Linked DNA regions of Homo sapiens: region 1 is linked to region 2. The links are contacts of gene promoters, found by promoter capture Hi-C in blood cells and fetal thymus (Javierre and others, 2016). All regions are on one chromosome and are shown on one strand. Each heading gives the region's core, a stretch centred on a gene start or on the middle of the fragment in contact. The rest is flanking DNA. Distances are from core to core; before and after follow the strand shown.

Region 1 (3,064 bases), core at 215-2,714, 260 kb after region 2:
GAGGGGGGTGTGGGGCTAGGGATTGACCCCCACCAAAAGGGGGCCTGTCACCACTGCAGGTAGCAGGATGAGGATGACTTTGACTTTGGGAAGGGCTGGGGGAGGAGGGAACCCGGGCAGAAGGGGGGTGTGAGTGTGGAGGCAGCAGGCAGACTCTTCTGCGGGTTTTGTGAAGGCCAGTAGCAGATGGGGGAGGCGTGGGGTGGAAGAAGAGTTCACTGGGGATGGGAAGGTGGGTTAATCCCAGTAGGAGCAATCCAATCCAATCTGGGAAGGAGGGAGGGAGGAACATCGCAAGAACCAGCCCTTGTTCCTGTTACAGGAACAGTTACAGGTGGGTGGTGGATGTGGTGTGGGGAATATGAGGTATCCTCGACCAAACCTCGGTGTCCTGAGCACAGGGGAGAGAAGGGCGTGCCACCAAGTGCGTTGTAGGGTCCAGGCCAGTCCCTGGGGTGCCCTTGCAGGTCCGCGGTTCATCTTCCATTCCTGTGAGCGGCCATTGCATCCCTGCCTTGGATCCTGAGTAGATTTGCTCAGGTCATCCCTGCCTGGCAATCTTCCTCTGCCCCAGGGGAAGCCAGGCCTGGCGTGGGAGGTTACGGGCCTGCACAAACCTACCAGCAGGGCCTCCTTGGGCAGCGTGGACCTGGAGCTTCTCTTGGGGCCACCAGTGTGTTGGGGCAGGGGAGGAGCTGGTGTCCTTCGCGGGGAGACCCTAGAAGCTACCTTAAGCCATTCCCTTCCCTTCCCATGTGGCCTTTGACAGCTCTGGTAAAGTAGAAGTATCACATGTAAGCTGGGAGCCCCAGTGGGCTGCTGTGTGAAAGGAGATGGCAGTCACTATCTAGTAGCTCCAGTTCTGTTTTTATGGCCATTTCTCCAACCATGTAGCCAATACTTTGCAAAAAACTTAGCATAATAGACTTTACATTTCTCTTCTGGAGGGAAAGGAAAAAACCTCAGGTTACTTAGAGGAGACTCGGGAGGGAAAGGATGCAGGTTGGGATAGAATGCCCTTCTCAATCTGGATAACCTCCATCAATGTATTTAACCTCATTCTTAGTTTTCTCATCGGAAAGCAGGGATGATGATGATAATGTGACGTCACACGATTGAGAAAGGTTATAGGTAACCACACGTCCTGAACACCCAACTCGGAATCTGGCCCAGCAGACACTCAGATATGAGTCCCCAAGTATTTGAATGTCTACTGTGAGCCTGGAACTGTCCTGGGGACTGTGGACTCAACAGAAAACCACACCCCTGCCTCTAGGAGGTTTGCGTTCTAGCGGGCACGGGCGAGACCAGCTATAAACCACATATGGCGTCAGTTCCCAGAAGAGAAATAAAGCAGGTACAGAATGATGGTGGGGGTGACGGCTCTATTCTGGGAGGTATCTGGTGACATTTGAGCAGAGACTTGATGGGCCCAGGTGGTGGCTATCACTCGTGAGAGCTTTGGGCATCATTCCTCCCAGCACATGCTCCAGTTACGTGGAGGCAGGACTGGCATTTGGGTGATTTTCTTGGATTGCTTGGCACTGCCATCTAGCCTCTCTCCACTTCCTTTGCAGGGTTTAACTCCCTCGTGGGTGGCGTGATGGGCTTCTCCATTCTTCTGAGCGCGGAAGTGTTCAAGCATGACTCGGCGGTCTGGTACCTGGACGGCAGCATAGGCGTTCTGATCGGCCTCACCATATTTGCCTATGGGGTCAAGTAGGTTCTTGTGCTTTCCTGTTTGCTTTCCTGGCAGCTAGGAGTGTCCCTTTTCCACCGCCTTCCCCAGTCAGGAAATGACAGGCTTCTGAAGGTCATATTTTGTACCTGTGCCCCTCCTGAGCCTGACCAGTGTCAGGTGACTGGAAAAGCACCCAGCAGGGGTCAGATATCCTTGGGGCTGGCACAGAAGTGAGGCAGGGACAAGAGGTATCAGGCCTTTAAGCCACAAAGGCACTCCTTGATTTCCATCTGATGCCTTTAGGACCCTTCGTGTCCTGACATCTATGCTCCTTCCTCTCTGACAGTCTTCATGATGCCCCAGGGAAGCACCTTTGCGTGGTTTCCTCACAAGTGGAGCCCCTCCTGCCACAAATGGGGGATGCAACAGTGTGCTGGCCAGAGGCCGCATCCCTAGCCTTAGAGAACTTCTTGCAAAAGGGGACTAGTCAGTGCAGAAAGGCCGTGCTGGCATCACTGACATGGACTTCAGCACCCAGGCTGGAGCTGGCCTTTCAGAGAACCATTTCTAAAGGGTGCTCTGCTTTTAAATGTTAAAATGCTTCCATTCTCAAGGAAAGGTAGGATGGCTATCATCAAAAAGAGGGACAACTGCCAGCGTCAGTGAGGACGTGGCGAAAGTGGAACCCTCATCCATGGCTGTGGGAATGGACGATGGTGCTGCCATGGACGCAGAGTTACCATTCGCCCCAGCACTTCCAGTCCTTGGTATACACTGCGGGAGGATGGAAACAAACCTCCACACTGAAAGTTGTCTGTGAAATTCACAGCAGAGTTATTCACAATAGGCAAAACGCAGAAGCAACACAATTGTCCATTAACAGATGAATGGATAAATGTGGTAGATCTGTGCAGTGGACACTTATTCAGCCCCCAAAAAGGAATGAAGTGCTAATACTCGCTCCAACATAGATGGACCTCAAATATTATGAAGGAAGTCACAAAAGGCCACGTTATGTGATTTTGTTTATATAAAATATCAATAGGCAAATCCATAGAGGCCAGAAGGAGGGTACTTCTCGTCAGGCGTGGGGAGGATGGGGAGTGAATGGTACAGTGGACATGGGGTTTCTGAGATAACACAAATGGATGAATATACTAAAAACCACCGAGCCACATAGGGTGAATTTTATGGTATGTGAATTATCTCAGGAAAAAAAAAATGAAAATACGCTTCCCCAAGCTCTTCAGCCCCATGCCATGGAGGTGACCTTGTCTGTCTTCGTCTTTGCAGACTCCTCATCGACATGGTGCCGAGGGTGAGGCAGACACGTCACTACGAGATGTTTGAGTGAAGGGGGCCAGCATCCGCATGAGACCATCG
Region 2 (3,052 bases), core at 124-2,623:
ATTCAGTGAAGAATGGACAGCCTTATAGAAATGTGATTGGACAAAGGGTGTGATCTAATGGTAATAGACTGAGGGTTGAACCCAGCGAGGCCTGTTCAGATTCTTCTTGGCCTCTCTGTGCAGCATGTATAGAGCAGGACCTCTTCTGGAATGAGGGTCTCAGGATCTACTATCAGACAAGGTAGGTCTGAGTATTTCTTCATGGCCAGCTCCTACACAGAAAGGCAGAGGACCAGGGAGGTTGGAGTACTATTTCTAGGTTGTATGACCACCGTAGGGAAGAGGAATTCTGGTTTCTGTGAACTGCTTAGTGGGGAGAAAGTCGGGGGGGAGACAGACTTTGTTTCTAAGGCGGCTTCAGAGGCCTGTTTAGTTTTTTAGTTCAAACTTAGCATACCAAAGTGCCATACGTTGGGGTATACTTTTCTGAGCCTCAACAAATCCAAGCTGAATTTATTAAACAGCAGGTCCTCTTTTGCTCCTCTCTGGGCATCAAGAGAGCTGGCGTGTGCCCTGCGGTGGACTCTCACTGGTGAGATCAGCCCCACCGCACAAAATGAATTAAGAGCTGCAGGGGTCAGAGTAGGGGAGACTTCTCGTAGAAGGGAGGCTTCCATGGATTTCTGAAGATCACACAAGACTTAGATGAGCAGGGGAGCGAACTGTATGGGACAAAGGCCCAGGAAGAGTCGAAATGGGGAAGCCTCGGAGTTCAAGCATCTTCTATAGCGCCCGCTGTCCTAAAGATACCCCATCCCTGGCTAAATGGGTGCTCCAGGGAGAAACTGGGAGGGGAGTTAAAGCTCCGAGAAGGACGGAGAGCGACGGGCTTGGGGACAGATGAACCCTTTTTCCCTGGATGAGCAGTGAGAATGGAGGCCCAGGCGAAGACCCTGTACAGCCTCTGAAGCCTGTGCAGCTCCAGAAGAGAAAGATGCCAAATTAGGGGCGCTGTCTGCTACCCACGCGCGGCCGCGGGCTTCGCGGACCCCAGAGGAATCCAGTGGGAGGGGTCCCCTCTGGGCACCATCCCGCGGCGCAGGTGGGGCGGGTCCCCGCTACGCCCTAGCCAAGCTCTGCCAGGGCCGCCTGTGGGTCCTCACGCTGGTTCCTCCCTCTCGTCCGCCTCGGTGCGCCGGCTCCCGCGCCCGGGCCTTGGGGCGGGTCCCTGCCGCCCGCACCTGCCCCCAGGGGCGGAGCGCGGCGGCAACAACGCGGCCCCAGCCTCCGCCACCGGCCGCGGAGCCGAGCGGCTCTCCGCTCGTCCCCGCCCCCGCCCGTGCACCTCCACTCCGCGGCGCCCGCCCGCCCTCCCTCCCTGTCCACGCGGCCAGTCCGTCCGCTCCTGCCCCCGCCAGAGCCGCGGCGCCTCGCACTTCTGACTCGAGTCCCCGCCGCGCTTGTCGTCGCCGCCGCCGGGATCCGCAGCCCCGCGCCATGGAGCCGGCCGCGGGCATCCAGCGCCGCAGCTCCCAGGGGCCCACCGTCCCGCCGCCGCCCCGGGGCCACGCGCCACCGGCTGCCGCCCCCGGCCCGGCCCCGCTGAGCTCCCCGGTGCGCGAGCCGCCCCAGCTGGAGGAGGAGCGGCAGGTGCGGATCAGCGAGAGCGGCCAGTTCAGCGACGGGCTGGAGGACCGAGGTGAGCGCGAGCTGCCCGACCCGGCCGGCGACCGGGGTGGCTGCTCGGGGCCCGCCTCTCCCCACTCGCGGGCCGCGCTGGGCGAGGCGCGGGGCTCGGAGCGCGCGGGGGCGCGGAGCCCCGACTTCCCGGCGAGAACGCCGCTAGCCGAGAGCGGCAGCCCCACCTTCTGCGGCCGGCACCGCCTCGGCTGCGGTTCCTTCCCTCGAAGCCCAGACCCCAGCTGCCTTCAGGCCGACCCCGCCTGGACTCGCGCCCTCCTCTCCGCCAGCTCCAGGCCCTCCGGCGCCCACGGGAAAAGTTTGCGGGAGGCATTTTTTGCGTTCGGAGTCGAGCGCTTCTGGGCCACTCCGGGCCCTACTCAGCTCGGAGGGACCCAGGCTCGTTGCATCCTCCTTTCCGTAGTCCCCTGCGGCTCCGCCGGCTGCCTGGGAGAACTTCCCTCTGCGGGTGTAGCCGCGAGATGTCCCTCGGCGGCCGCCCGGCTGCCCGCCCCGGCGAAGGGCGCAAGGAGGGGAGCGAGCCGGGACTCGGGCGGCCTCTGGTCTCGGGCAGTCCCCGATTCTAATCGCGGACGCGGGTCACAGTGGGTCCCTGCCCCGTCGTCTCATGATGGGGCAGAGGAATGGGACATTTGGATTTGGGCCACCAACCTCATCTGGATGGATGCCACTGAAACCTGATGTTTCCGGAGGGCGCGTCTGCAGACCCTTCAGAGCTCCCCTCCACTGACACTGGCCTGGAGGTCAGCACACTTGCCTCTGCTGGGAGACCACACTCTGCCTCCCACCGACTGCCGATGCCCCCTTGAGTCGCCAGTGTAGGACGGGAGAGACTCCCTGCTCGTTCCCGCGTCTCTCTTCTCCATCCCTTCCGCGTTTCCTTTGGGCTTGGATTCTTTGCAGAGGGAGCCCTGTTCTTGGCCGCGTCTGCACCTTTTCTACTTCTTGCTGAATCCGAATCCAAATTGTCCCCCTCAGAACGAATCTGTGGTTCTGCTAAAACCGTTTAGTGGCCAAAGAGGGATTCTTGCAGCCAGGCCCTTTAGGGGAAGCCGGCTCTTTTGCACCTCCACCCCCTTTTCTTGGAAGCCTTATTTTGTTGGCTATGGCGGGTTTATATATTTTAGACTTAGCAGGTTTCTGTCCTATTCTTAGTATCTCCTGTACATTTTTATTCCGGTTTAGTGTTCGGATGCACGATCTCTTTCTCCTTAGAAATTCTAAACTGTAGCATGTGAAATAAAATGACATGGAAACGGCAGTTCCCAGAGAATCCGCCTAGATGCTCAGCGAGAACTGGAGCTGCTCCAGTGGCAACGAATTCTGCACCTCTGTTGCAGTTTCTCCCCCTGTTCTCACATAACTAGATGCCATTTAAGAGGTGAGGACAGGGGACATCACGAGCATGGAA

Evidence for each region. The method cuts DNA at HindIII sites, captures the fragments that hold promoters and counts their contacts. A CHiCAGO score of 5 or more calls a contact.
Region 1: a fragment that was not itself captured here is called in contact with the fragment with the promoter of TMEM163 in region 2 in 4 of 17 cell types (megakaryocytes, M0 macrophages, M1 macrophages and 1 more); the score reaches 16.2 in megakaryocytes.

What each region holds. Positions count from the first base shown.
Region 1 is chr2:134,456,687-134,459,750 of GRCh38, reverse strand. TMEM163 (transmembrane protein 163) reads left to right here. Exons shown (of 8, transcript NM_030923.5): 7 at 1,578-1,719; 8 at 2,975-3,064. The coding sequence ends at 3,035. Among named protein-coding and RNA genes, the nearest start is that of MGAT5, 200 kb to the right of the region's middle. The HindIII fragment of the contact is 4,333 bases long and covers 1-3,064 here.
Region 2 is chr2:134,717,321-134,720,372 of GRCh38, reverse strand. It overlaps TMEM163 (transmembrane protein 163), which reads left to right and starts at 1,373. Exons shown (of 8, transcript NM_030923.5): 1 at 1,373-1,639. The coding sequence starts at 1,438. LOC105373629 (a long non-coding RNA gene) reads right to left here and starts at 2,261. Exons shown (of 2, transcript XR_923354.4): 1 at 1,806-2,261. RefSeq lists a silencer at 1,050-1,289. The HindIII fragment of the contact is 5,110 bases long and covers 1-3,052 here.